Regions from separate parts of the Homo sapiens genome. Here all the other regions are linked to region 3. The links are contacts of gene promoters, found by promoter capture Hi-C in blood cells and fetal thymus (Javierre and others, 2016). All regions are on one chromosome and are shown on one strand. The core of a region is centred on a gene start or on the middle of the fragment in contact, and the rest is flanking DNA. Distances in the headings are between cores, read along the strand shown.

The links. Contacts are between HindIII fragments. The CHiCAGO score rates a contact against its expected background, and 5 or more counts as called.
Region 1: a fragment that was not itself captured here is called in contact with the fragment with the promoter of LRP1 in region 3 in 7 of 17 cell types (M2 macrophages, erythroblasts, M0 macrophages and 4 more); the score reaches 5.7 in M2 macrophages.
Region 2: a contact is called between a fragment that was not itself captured here and the fragment with the promoter of LRP1 in region 3, in 5 of 17 cell types (naive B cells, M0 macrophages, total B cells and 2 more). The highest score is 6.2, in naive B cells.

Annotation. Positions count from the first base shown.
Region 1 is chr12:56,718,218-56,722,967 of GRCh38, reverse strand. It overlaps NACA (nascent polypeptide associated complex subunit alpha), which reads left to right. Exons shown (of 9, transcript NM_001365896.1): 3 at 1,509-4,750. Among named protein-coding and RNA genes, the nearest start is that of NACA, 4.7 kb to the left of the region's middle. RefSeq lists an enhancer at 2,033-2,152. The HindIII fragment of the contact is 4,291 bases long and covers 1-3,937 here.
Region 2 is chr12:56,769,154-56,773,728 of GRCh38, reverse strand. The region is part of intron 1 of HSD17B6 (hydroxysteroid 17-beta dehydrogenase 6); the gene reads right to left. Among named protein-coding and RNA genes, the nearest start is that of HSD17B6, 8.1 kb to the right of the region's middle. The HindIII fragment of the contact is 2,222 bases long and covers 1,569-3,790 here.
Region 3 is chr12:57,126,746-57,131,301 of GRCh38, reverse strand. LRP1 (LDL receptor related protein 1) reads right to left here and starts at 2,819. Exons shown (of 89, transcript NM_002332.3): 1 at 2,271-2,819. The coding sequence starts at 2,337. RefSeq lists enhancers at 1-77, 3,159-3,812. The HindIII fragment of the contact is 5,123 bases long and covers 1,201-4,556 here.

The DNA of each region.
Region 1 (4,750 bases), core at 543-3,042, 410 kb after region 3:
TGCCATAAGAACTTCAGAATTACTGGTTGAGTGAATTTTGAATTTGAATTTTGGTACCACGGGCTTCCCCCCCGCCCCCCTTAACATTCCCTTCTAAGCATTGAGCATTTGTTGATCCAATTCTGTGTTACCTCCTGAATGCCAGAGATACTGTCTTACTGTCATGCCAAACATTGGTGTATTTTGACATAATGAAACACTTAAATTCCAAGTTAAGGAGTGGGGATCCAGTGTATTCTCGCCACTCCAATTGTCTTCTTTGGTTTGTTTTGTTTTGAGACGGAGTCTCACCCTGTCACCCAGGCTGGAGTGCATGCAGTAGCGCGATCTTGGCTCACTGCAACCTCCACCTCCTGGGTTCAAGCCATTCTCCTGCCTCTGCCTCCTGAGTAGCTGGTATTACAGGTGTACACCACCACGCCCAGCTAATTTTTGTATTTTTAGTAGAGACGGGGTTTCACCATGTTGGTCAGGTCGGTCTGGAACTCCTGACCTCGTGATCCGCCCTCCCAGGCATCCCGAAGTGCTGGGATTACAGGCATGAGCCACTGTTACAGGCTCTCCAATTCTCTTCTTCCAAAATAGCACCACAATCTGGTTTAACAAGTTAGGTTACAGTTTCATAATACAGTCCCTACCCTTGTGAGTAAGCTCTCTGCCTGGAGGTCTAATTCATGTCTAATTCATCTTGGATTGATGTCTGAAGAATTAACATCACCTAGGAAGGTTTATAGAGACTATTACAGTCCTTTTGTGGTTGGTTTTCTTGTTTGGGTTTTGTGAGTAAGTAAACTGGTAAGGTATAAAGAAGCTAAGTGACTTTAATACTTGATATTAAATTCTGAAGTGTTTCAACTTTAGGAAGAACTGAATTGTGCTGTGCACCTCCTTCCCAAAACTATTCTAACAGAGTCAGATGTTTCCTAGCCTAGTGGAAGCCTGAAAGTATAAAAGCCTGTGTTTTCTTATTCAGTTCAGATTCCCCATCATCGTCACTGCTCACTAACTTCTTTGTTCCAGTTTTCAGTATCTTTTCTGTTCATGATATTTGGGTGGACAGAGTAGCACAGCTGTTCTTCTCGTGGGAATTCTGTTGGCTGTGAGAAAGACTTGGGAATACAGTCCATTTCAAGAAGTAAGGGGAGGGCACAACTGGGAAAGGATAGAAAGCATGTTGTTCTCAACCTACCAAGAGTCTGTGCTCCCCATTTAGAGATAGGCTGCTCTTAGACTGTTCTCCTCACCCTAAAATAGTTGGTTTACTTTGGTAGAACTTGGGGAAGTGTGAGAAATTAGGAGGGGAATGTCTTCTCACTTGACCACTGAAAAATGTTTGGGGAAGGTTGTTGTTGCCTGTCACCTTTATCTAATCCTGCGTGGTGACTTAGACTGTCAGATTTTAAACTCCAGTGTTTCCTAGGAGGCATGTTGTACCAAGTTGGGCTGCATAACTCACCTTTTTTCTCCTCCCCCTCCCCCTTTCTTTATCTCCTTTTGCCTTTCTCCAGCTGTGCTACCTATGTCTTCAGCCTTGAGTGTCACTGCTGCCTTAGGGCAGCCTGGACCTACCCTCCCCCCTCCTTGCTCTCCTGCCCCACAACAGTGCCCTCTCTCAGCTGCTAACCAGGCTTCCCCATTCCCTTCCCCCTCTACTATTGCCTCGACCCCTTTAGAAGTTCCTTTTCCCCAGTCATCCTCTGGAACAGCCCTACCTTTGGGAACTGCCCCTGAAGCCCCAACCTTCCTACCAAACCTAATAGGGCCTCCCATCTCCCCAGCTGCCTTAGCTCTAGCCTCTCCCATGATAGCTCCAACTCTGAAAGGGACCCCTTCCTCTTCAGCTCCCTTAGCTCTGGTTGCCCTGGCTCCCCACTCAGTTCAGAAGAGTTCTGCTTTTCCACCTAACCTTCTTACTTCACCTCCTTCAGTGGCTGTAGCTGAGTCAGGGTCAGTGATAACTCTGTCAGCTCCCATTGCTCCCTCAGAACCAAAGACTAATCTTAATAAAGTTCCCTCTGAGGTAGTCCCTAATCCAAAAGGCACCCCCAGCCCTCCATGTATAGTCAGTACTGTTCCTTACCACTGTGTGACTCCCATGGCCTCTATTCAATCTGGAGTGGCCTCCCTTCCTCAGACAACACCCACAACTACCCTAGCCATCGCTTCCCCTCAAGTCAAAGATACCACCATTTCCTCAGTTCTGATTTCTCCACAAAACCCAGGAAGCCTCAGCCTGAAGGGGCCTGTTAGTCCACCTGCTGCCTTATCTCTTTCAACTCAGTCTCTTCCTGTGGTGACCTCTTCTCAAAAGACTGCGGGTCCCAACACCCCCCCAGATTTTCCCATTTCTCTGGGCTCTCATCTTGCACCTTTACATCAGAGTTCTTTTGGTTCTGTCCAACTTTTAGGTCAAACAGGTCCTAGTGCTTTGTCAGACCCTACAGTGAAGACCATTTCTGTAGATCATTCTTCCACAGGGGCCTCTTATCCTTCTCAGAGATCTGTAATTCCTCCCCTTCCTTCCAGAAATGAGGTAGTTCCTGCTACTGTGGCTGCCTTTCCAGTGGTGGCTCCATCTGTTGACAAAGGTCCCTCTACCATCTCTAGCATAACCTGCAGCCCTTCTGGCTCCTTAAATGTAGCTACCTCTTTTTCATTATCTCCTACAACCTCTCTCATTCTCAAAAGCTCTCCTAATGCCACTTATCATTATCCTTTAGTGGCCCAAATGCCCGTTTCTTCTGTTGGAACCACCCCACTTGTGGTGACTAACCCCTGTACAATTGCTGCAGCACCTACTACTACCTTTGAGGTAGCTACTTGTGTTTCTCCTCCAATGTCATCAGGTCCCATAAGTAACATAGAACCAACTTCCCCTGCTGCCTTGGTTATGGCACCTGTGGCTCCCAAAGAGCCTTCTACTCAAGTAGCAACCACTCTGAGGATACCAGTCTCTCCTCCTCTGCCAGACCCTGAAGACCTCAAAAATCTCCCCAGTTCAGTATTGGTTAAATTTCCAACACAAAAAGACCTCCAAACTGTACCTGCCTCTCTTGAAGGAGCCCCTTTCTCTCCAGCCCAAGCAGGACTCACCACCAAGAAAGACCCTACTGTATTACCGTTAGTCCAGGCAGCCCCTAAAAATTCCCCTTCTTTCCAAAGTACATCCTCTTCTCCAGAGATACCTCTTTCTCCTGAAGCCACCCTAGCAAAGAAAAGCCTTGGGGAGCCTCTCCCTATAGGTAAGCCAGCCAGCAGTATGACCTCCCCTCTGGGTGTTAACTCCTCGGCCTCTGTAATCAAGACAGATTCTTATGCAGGCCCAGACTCTGCTGGTCCGCTTCTCAAAAGTTCTCTCATTACCCCAACAGTGGCTGCATTTCCTTTGGAAAGTGCTGACCCTGCCGGGGTGGCTCCCACAACTGCCAAAGGTACCTCAACTTATACAACTACAGCCAGCCCTTTTCTAGAAGGAACTGTCTCTTTAGCTCCTAAAAACCACCCAGTTAAGGAAGGTACTCTTACTACTTTACCCTTGGTTCCTACAGCTTCAGAAAATTGCCCTGTGGCTCCATCCCCCCAGAATACCTGTGCTCCTCTGGCTACCTTAGTGCTGGCCCCTGAAATCCCAAAGTCTGTGCCCTCACCCTCTCTTCCCCCAGCTGGGACTCCTCCAGGTACAAAAAAGGTTGATGGTATTTCTCATACTTCAGCATTGGCACCTGTTGCTTCCTCTCCCAAAGAGTGCCCAACTGAGGACTCTGGTGCTTCTGCTACTGCATCTTCCAAAGGAACTCTGACTTACCTAGCTGATTCCCCATCTCCTTTAGGGGTTAGTGTGTCTCCTCAGACTAAAAGACCTCCAACCAAGAAGGGTTCTGCTGGCCCTGATACTCCTATTGGAAATCTCTCATCCCCTGTTTCTCCAGTTGAAGCTTCATTTCTTCCAGAGAATAGTCTTTCTTTCCAAGGCTCTAAAGACTCACCAGCCACGACGCATTCTCCCACTCCTCCATCCCCCAAAGGGGCCCCTACTCCCTCAGCTGTGACTCCTCTGTCTCCCAAAGGAGTAACACTACCCCCCAAAGAGACCCCCACTCCTTCAGTGGTGAATCTGCCCTTCCCCAAAGAGGGTCCAGCTACTCCAGCACCCAAACAGGCTCCTGCTCTATCCATGACTTCTTCCTCCCCCAAAAAGGCCCGAGCAACTCCAGCCCCTAAAGGAATCCCAGCTTCCCCATCCCCCAAAGGGGCCCCCACACCCCCAGCTGCAACTCCTCCCTCCCCTAAAGGAGGCCCAGCTACCCCATCCCCGAAATGGGCCCCCACACCCCCAGCTGCAACTCCTCCCTCCCCAAAAGGAGGTCCAGCTACTCCATCCCCCAAAGGGGCCCCCACACCCCCAGCTGCAACTCCTCCCTCCCCCAAAGGAGGTCCAGCTACTCCATCCCCCAAAGGGGCCCCCACACCCCCAGCTGTGACTCCTCCCTCCCCCAAAGGAAGTCCAGCAGCTACCCCATTCCCCAAAGGGGCATCCACACCCCCAGCTGCAACTCCTCCCTCCCCCAAAGGAAGTCCAGCAGCTACCCCACTCCCCAAAGGGGCCCCCACAACCCCAGCTGCAACTCTTCCCTCCCCAAAAGGAGGTCCAGCTACCCCATCCCTCAAGGGGGCCCCCACTCCCCCAGCTGCGACTCCTCCCTCCCCAAAAGGAGGCCCAGCTACCCCATCCCCCAAAGGGGCCCCCATG
Region 2 (4,575 bases), core at 1,430-3,929, 360 kb after region 3:
TATTGATTAATACTTAGTCCTACCCTCAAGGGGCCACAGTCTAGAGAGGGAAGTCAGTGAGGTAACCAAACAAATCCAATGCAGTGTGAAAGGTGCCATAACAGAAGTATACACACAGTCTACAAAGGAAGATGACCGATAGCCTAGCACAGAAGGAATGATTTTGGTACTACTTCCTACCAAATAGGATAAGTAAGTTCAAAAAGTGGATAAGGATGACAACATTCCAGGCAGTAACAATGTGTACATGAAGGGAGTCGTGAGCAGCACAGAACTTCTTGAGACCTATAAACAATTCTGCATGAGTGCAGAGCAGAACATACATAAGAAGAGACTGGAGATGAGGTAGTGAAGGGCCAAATCATGAAAGGCCTTGTAAGCCACACTACGGAATCTGGATGTTATCCTGTGGACAGAGTATGCTACTAGAAGACATTAAACAGAGTATGCTACTAGAGTCAGGTGGCCAGATTAAGTTTTAGGAAGATTTGTCTCACAATGGCAGTGGAGGATAGATGAAACAGGTGTGGTGAAGGCAGTGAGATCCATTAGGAGATCCAATAGTTTGGGTGAGTTATTGCAGCCAAAGCAATTTGTAAACCTAGACCAATCAGAAGCATTGTTGAAATGAGTGTTCACAGATGCCTATGTTTCTATATGAAATTCTGGAGCAAAGTCCACCATTTTTTAGTAATCTATACATGTTGGCTGAACTAACATAATTCATAACAACATAGGTAGAGGTCAAATATGGGTATGGGCCCGCTAGCATCATAAGGCCTATACCACAACGCCTGCATGAGGCTAGTCTATGCAATTCAAACTCCTTAGTTTGACATGAATGTCCCCAGCACTCTGGCTACTTAGGCTTCTCTCTTGCATCCTACTCTTTAGCCAAAACAAACAACTTTCAGTCCCCTGCAAAGCACAGGCTTTTTACGCCTCTGCATACACTTCTTTCTACTGGAAAGAAGTAGCCCTCATCTACTTGGCAAATAACACTCTTTTTTTTTTCTTTTTTTTTTTTTTTTGAGACAGAGTTTCACTCTTTTTGCCCAGGCTGGAGTGCAATGGCGCAATCTCAGCTCACTGCAACCTCCGCCTCCTGGGTTCAAGTGATTCTCCTTGCCTCAGCCTCCCGAGTAGCTGGGATTACAGGCACGTGCCACCAAGCCGGGCTAATTTTGTATTTTTAGTAGGGAGAGAGTTTTTTACCATGTTGGCCAGGCTAGTCGTGAACTCCTGACCTCAGGTGATCCACCCACCTTGGCCTCCCAAAATGCTGGGATTACAGGCATGAGCCACCACACCCAGCCATAACACTCATCTTTTAAGTCTCAGCCTAATCATCACTTTCATTCAGCAAACATTAATTCAACAACTACTTGAGTCAGACACAGTGTTAGGCACTGATACACAAGAGTGAACAATACATAGTCCATTTTTCATTGAATTCACAGTCTCATTATGAAGACTGACAACAATGCATTATAACAGAAGTAAAAACAGGAGGCTGCTGGAACACTCAGGAGAGGCTTCTAAGGCAGTTTAGAGAGGTCTGAGAAGCTTCCTAGAGAGAATAAAATATAAGTTGAGATCTACAGGTGTACTAGTCCGTTTTCACACAGCTATAAAGATACCACCCGAGACTGGGTAATTTATAAAGAAAAGAGGTTTAATTGATTCACAGTTCCACATGGCTGGGGAGGTCTCAGGAAAATTACAATCATGGTAGAAGGGGAAGCAAACACATGATGGCAGGAAAGCAAAAGCAAGCAAGAGAGGAACTACCAAACGCTTATAAAACCATCAGCTCTCATGAGAACTCAACATGGGGGAAACCACCCCCATGATCCAATCACCTCCCACCAGGTTCCTCCCTAAACACCTAGGAATTACAATTCAAGATATGATTTGGGTAGCGACACAAAGCCAAACCATATCAAAAGGATAATTAAAAAATAATAGCTAGGCCAGGCACACTGGCACATGCCTGTAATCTCAGCATGTTGGGAGGCCAAGGCAGGCAGATCACCTGAGGTCAGGAGTTTGAGATCAGCCTGGTCAACATGGCGAAACCGCATCTCTACAAAAATACAAAAATTAGCCAGGCATGATTGTGGGCGCCTGTAATCCCAGCTACTTGGGAGGCTGAGGCAGGAGAATCGCTTGAACCCGGGAGGTGGAGGTTGCAGTGAGCCGAGATCATGCCATTGCATTCCAGCCTGGGTGACAGAGCGAGATTCTGCCCATCTCAAAAAAAAAAAAAAAAAAAAAAAATTGCAACCCTTGCCGAGCACTTGCTGTGTATCAGGCTCTGTTCTAAGATGTCACATATATTAACTTTTTGAATTCTCACAAGAACCCTACAAGACAGGTCCCATCATTATTCCTCTGTGTCAGTTCAGATACCAAGACAAAATTAGACATGCAAGAGATTATGGGGGAAACACCCTCAGAGGACAAAGGGGGAAGGCACAGGAATAGGTGGTAATGCAGATCTGACACCTCGGGAAGGAGAGGGGAACAGAAGGAGGAGAAGATAGGAAGAGCTTTAGACTGTAGTAGAGCCCCAAGAAAGTCTCAGCCAGGCCCATGAGCCTGAGCAAAGACTGCCACTGGAGAAGTTCCACACTGGGCTGAACTGGTCCAGCTCCAGTACTGCCATCCTTCTGGTCATTGGCTGACCAGTGCCCAAGAGGAGCGTGCCTCAGTGTAAATACCACAGCAGATCGGAGGGTGCCACAACTGGAGGCTGGAAGTCAACCTCACTCCTCATAGCAGATTTTCTTGAGTGATCTGAGCAATGCACCTCAATGGCTGCCACACTGTTTCATAGGTGAGCACTGAGAGATTACATACAGTACTAGACAGAGGGGACAAAAAATGGTCCAGGCAAGAGACTTTCCTGCCCTGATTTAACCTGCCCCATGGTCTAACAGAATTGACTATACCCTCCTTAGTGTCCCCATTGTGGCCTGGGTTTATCATGATGCCTGCTGTACTTCATTGCACTGCTCTTCCCCATTTTTAGACTATAAGGCCCTTGAGAGCCCAGGTTACATATTAGTCTGCACCTGGCCCAGTGAATGGCACATAGCAGATACTTAATAAATGTTAGATAAATTAAGTTATACTAAGTAAAAATATCCTGATAAAAAATTGAGAGAAAAAAAGCAGGGAGAATGAGCCAGAGAAGTAGGAAAAAGCAAGCTGATGAAAGCCAAGGAAAGGGGGGCTTAATGAGGATCAGCAATGCAACCAGGAGGTCTGCTGGGTAATAGGAGGGCACTGGTGCTCTTAACGGGAAGACTCAGACAGTGAAGGGCACAGAAGCCAATCTTCAGTGGGCTGCTGCATGAATTGGAGGGCAGGAAGTGGAGCCGAGTGGAGACTCTTTTTCAAAAGCCTGGTCTGGGAAGGAGAGGAGAGAAGGCAGTAAGTAGCGAGAGGGCAACTTAGGGTGTAGGCAAGTAAAGTGGAAGGAGACAGTGAAAGGGAGAAAACAGTGGAGAGAGGCATATATTGCTCCTCCCTCCCCCACCATCTTCTCTTTCTCTCCTTTTCCCCTCTTCCCTCTGTCTCTCTCCTTCCTTCTCTGAAGCCCTTTGCCTCTCTCCAATCTGAGAGCTCTGTGTTCTCTAGCCAGCTGCCTCTGTTCTGCCTAAGTGGCATTCCCTGGTGCACTACAGTAACACAGAGAGCTTCAACCTGACTGTTTATTGACTAAAAGGTAATTTTCTGTTGCCAGTCAAAGATGAAAACGTATTTCCCCCATTAGAGAGAAGCTTGGCCCTCACAGTTTCCCCGGGCATTACTATTCAGCCATCGCATGCCTAGCAGCAAGAAGACCTGCAGAAGAGATACACCTGGCGGAATCCCAAACCCTAGGCCAAACCTGAATGTGCCTCGAATATTTCAAATGTCCAAATACCCGAAGTGGCGTGGCCTGCTTGCTTTTACAAACCATTCATCTGCAAAAGCTGTGCAATTACTTTACGTTTTTGCCTTTGACTCAAATTATTTATACACAGTACTTAAGCTGCTATTTCTTGATTTACCAATTTTTGACATTCTCAATTAACTTCCTGCTATGGTAAATAAGAATTCAGCTTTCTTACATCATATTGTCAGTCTCTTCCTTTCTCATCTACACTATGCTATCTGGTTAATTTTATTTAATGAGTTTTGAGGTCGAGCCTAGAAAACACCTTCATAATCACACATGCATAGGTTAAGAACTTCCACTGTTTATTTCAGGTCTGATCCCCATCTTGGGCTTCATCATTGCTTGAAGCTACTCTCCCACAAAGATCTTGAAAAGCTAGGCCAGGCACGGTGGCTCACGCCTGTAATCCCAGCACTTTGGGAAGCTGAGGCAGGCAGATCACCTGAGGTCAGGAGTTCGAGACCAGCCTGGGCAACATGACTAAGCCCCATCTCTACTAAAAATACAAAAATTAGCTGAGTGTGGTGGCAGTGCCTGTAGTCCCAGCTACTTGGGAGGCGGAGGCACAAGAATCGCTTAAACCTGGGAGGCAGAGGTTGCAGTAAGCCAAGATCACGCCACTGCAC
Region 3 (4,556 bases), core at 1,570-4,069:
GGAGTGACGTTACTCCCCAAAGGGCAGGGGACCCCAGAGGCAGTTTCAGGCATAGAAGAGAAAGCAGAAGAGGTGGGAAAGCCCCTAGGATTGCTGCCCTGGAGAGAAAGCAGCAAGGCTGTGATAGCAGGAGGAAGGTAACATACTAAGTCAGGTGAGCTGGGTCATCTCCATTCTCTGGAAAGTAAACAAGAAAGTTCAATGTTGATGGACCCTGAGGCAAGAGGGCAGGGGTTAGGGATAAGGGATCCCCTAGGCTGCCTCTGGATAGAGTTGAACTTACATTTCTATGCAATTCCCCTTTCTCACCACCCTGTACCCAAGAGTGGGGTGGAGCTGATTATTTATATTCCCACTCCCAAGGCAGAAATATTGGTGTGTGTTTGGGGAGGGGTCCTCTCCTGGGGCTTTGGATAGTTTGATCTGAGCTGGAGATACAGAGGGGGCGTGGGTGAACATTTTAAGAAAGGGTAGGGAGATAGTTAAGGAGAACATGTCCAGTCTCTCTCTTCCACTAACTTGGTGTGGCAAATAGAACTCCTTTAGAGCCCTGGGAGTGATGCTATCTGGGGTCCCTTCCTGACCTTCCCTGCTCTCCACAGAAACCCTCTTGCTTCTGCCTAACTCTAGCCACCCTCCTTCAAGGGGCTCCTGATGGGTCTCTCTCTCTCTCAAATTTTTTTTCTATTCCTCCCAGAAGCGGCTGCAACCCCAATCTCCCTGCCTCGATTTCCCTTCTCACCTCACAGGGCTGAGAACAAGAGAAAAACACATGATAATGACAGGAGTTATAGGCAGAAGCCGGCTGTGCGGCATCTGGAGGATATTCAGGAAAAGCCCCTCTCCTCCTCCGGGGCAGCTAATTGGTGGGGTGGGGGTGGGGGGTAGAGAGTCCCCAAGATGGCACAACTGAGGGACACTAAATATGTTTTTTGGGGACACAGCTGCTTCCTGACCCTGTAAGTCTCCTCCCCCAATTGAAGCAAGTTAGGGAGAGGGAGGGAGATAATCTGGTTTCAGAGAAAAACTTTCCCAATCCCAATCTGGCAAGACAGAGGAGGGGGTGTATGATGGTATCCAGCCCAGTTTTGTCTTTGGATGAGAGGGCTAAGATGACAGGAGGGGATGAGATCCCACCCCTTCTCAAATCAGGGACCTAGCCCAGCCCAACCCCATGACCCCAGCTTAATGCTTAAAGCTTGGGCAAGACTTGAACCAGTGACTCACAAGTAGGAGAAAAAAACAGCTGACAAAAAAAGGGAAGAGAGGCACCCCATTTCCCCAAAAGGATGCAGTTCTAGCCTAAGCCTAACTCTGCAATATACAAAGTGTGTGTGTATGGGGTTTTGGGCTTGGAGGGGTGCAGGGAATAAACAGATTTACTAAAGGAGTGTGGGGGCACAGCCATAATCCCCATCCAACCTCCAACTCTCCTTCCAATCCAAACTGTGATGAAGCCAGAAGTCAGGAAGAAGGCAGCCTCCCCCACCCTCCTACCCCAGCATTCCAGGCCATTCTCCAGTCCCCTTCCCCAGTGATGACATCTGACGTTTTTTCATCTCAAAGCTCCCAGGAATTAAGAAGGAAAATTCAAAGTCACATAGTATGGCGAGCTCCCCCTCTCTGCCCCCCAACACAGCCCTACCCCAGGCTACTGACAGAGGCCCTGAGAGGGGGAAGAGCCTACTTCAGCACCCAGGCCTCCAGCCGGGGCTCTGGGGTCGATTCCACGCCCAAGCAGGGGGCCCTCCCTCTCCCCACCCACAGCCTTCCCGGGCCTGCCTGCCCTCTGCCCGGCAGGGTACCCCTGGCCTGGCTCCCCTTTCGAGCTACAGAGGCCAGTGCAAAAGCCACCCCCCCCACCCCCACCCCCTTTTGCAGCCGAACATTGCAAATCCGGATTCCTTCACAATTCAGATGGGGGGTGGGGGGTTGTGAGGATGTAGGGGAGGCGGAGGCCCTCCCCGAACAGAGATAGGAAAAGAAGGCCTCTCCTCCCCAGGATCAGAAAAATGGGGAGCCCTCTTCTCTCTACCCAGGCCTCTGGTCTTTGTTTGTGCTGGGGGGCCCCGGAAGCATCATTTGCCCAGGGCCCCCATCCCCCAAATCGGACCCCATCCCCGCCCCCAGTCGGGCCGCTGCTGTGTCAGCTGGACTGGGATAACAAAAGGCACCCCCTCCCGCGTCTCCCTTCCCCATCCGTATGCAGGAGTGGGGGCTGGGGAGAGGGTGCCCCCAGGGGTCCAAGGGGGACGCGGAATCTCACTCACCGTCGATAGCCGCCGCGACCAGAGCTGAGAGCAGGGGCAGCAGCAGGAGCAACGGCGGGGTCAGCATGGTGTGGGCTGATGCAAGCAGCAGCCCCTTCCCCTCTGGTCCTGCTACTTCTCTCCTTCACCCCCCCCAGTTGGGGGGTCCCCCTTTTCCTCCTTTCCCCCTCCTCCTTCTCTGTTCTTATTCTTTCCTTCGGCAAAGCGCACCAGGGGCGTGGGTGAAGAGGTAGAGTTCCGAGCCCCTTGGGGAGGGCCTGCTGACGGGGGTGCGCCCCCTGCCCCGAAATCCAAACCCTTCACCCCACCCCCCCGCTTCACTCCTCGCTGCTCTTTCCCCCTCCCCGGGCGAAGCTCACAGCCCCATCTCGGAGCCGCCTCCGGCTGCAAAAATGCACAATTGGGAGGAGGCGGGGAGGGGGGGTGGGGGGCGTGGACCGGGTAGGGGAGCCTTTGGAGGGGGCTTGATGGAGCTCTGGGGGCTCCCCTTGTTTCCGCCTCCTCAGTGCATGGGCCTGGAGCTCGCACCGCTGTTCCCCGGACTGAAGTGCCGAGGGGGGGGCTGATGGGGGAGAGGGAGGGGACGGGTTGAGGAGGGAGGGAGGGAAGGGGCGGGGAAAGAAAAAAGGTTGGTGGGTGGGGGGAGAAAGAGCTACGCGGCAATCCAGTGAGTGCGCATGCGCCGATTTGACGCGCTGCCCGGGGGAGGGCGACGCGGACCCGCGACAGGGTTCGGAGTTCTGGAAAGCGGTCCAAGAGTGAGGGTCCCGGGGACTCGCTGGCTAGTTTGGGGCCTGGGGCGCCCTCTCCCCTGGCTGGGCCCTCCTCCCTGGTGCTCCAGAGAGCAGAAGGGGTCGAGGGTGGGATTGGGCAGTGGGCGGAGAGCTGAGCGGCTCCCCTTTGAAACTCAGTGTCATACTCTAGGATTTCAGGCTCCCTCCGGGGGCGTCCGGGACTCAGTGGTCTGGGCCGAGGCTCGATTTTCTAGGGGAACCCTGAAGGTGCCTCCTCTGCCCGGGGTGGGGACAGGGACCGCCAGTCCGCGGGGAAGGTGCAGGGAAAGGCTGAGCTTTGATTTGGAGACTTTGGAAGACCGGACTGGGATTGGGGCCTGCGAAGGAGGGGGCGGGGTTGGGGAGGGACCGCGAGGACCCGCCCCCACCTCGCTCCCGGGCTCGGAGTAAACAGGGACACCCGAGGGGACACGCCGGAGCTTGTCCGCCCGCGTGGGGCTCGGGGATGGAGCCCACCTTAGTACCCGCCCGCCCTGCTCGCCCAGCCCTAGGCGCGGGAGGGGCAGGCCCTGGTTTGGAGGGAGGTGAGTCACCAGCGGGTGGGGTTGAGGAAAGGCCACCCCCTTTCGCCCAAGAAGTCGGGGCTCATTTATTTTTCTGTTTTTTTTTTTTTTTTTTTTTTTAATACCTTCTGACTGGCTTGCCATCAAGTTAGGGTTTTAGATTCCGAGCGCCAGGATTTGGAATAAGATGAGGGACTCTGGACCTTCGTTTCCAGGCCTCGGGTTCCAAGGAGGTGTCTGCTGAGCGCCGGACCTTTGTCCCCAGGCTCAGCCCACACGGGAATGATACTTTGCAGAAGGCAGGCGCCAGGCGGTTCCCAGGGGCCAGTGAACGTGCTTTTGGTCACTGCCCCCTTCTGGGCGGCGTTTTATGGCTGTTACCTTAGTGTCTGACTTTCTAGGTGTCTGCATGTCAGAGTTCAAGGAGCGGGGCAGACGACGTCGGCTGCCAAAAATTGACGCTGGAGAGGAGGGACTGTTCCCCCTTTTACGTTCTAGTTACGGAAAAGTCCCCACTCCAGTCTGTCCTTGGCAGAAACAGGAGCAGCACGAAGGACTTGCCTCCTAATGACAGTGAGCTCAACCTTTAGCTTCTTCCAGCCGGCTTTGCTCAGCGCGGTGGCCACCTGCCTTTAGTCTCCTGGGCTAGAAACCTCAGACTTTATGCCAACTCAAGGGGGCCTTTCCTTCCTATATCCAATCTTGCCAGCCTGTGCTCCAGGCTTGTCATTTTTTTCCTCTGAAGTATATCTCAGATTTCCTCCATTTCCACTGCCAGAGAGTTGCTCCAGGCAGGAACGGGGTCTTATTTCTCCTTTTATCCAGCTCCCATGGCCCAACACAATGTGAGACGCACTATGCGGACTCACCAAATGCCTACGAGGTTCCTCCCAGGGCCCCTCCCAGTATTGGGATCCAAGTGAAATCAGGTCGAAACAGACTTTAGACAGCTTGACAGCTTTGAGAGGAAAACGGTATCTGGAGCAACC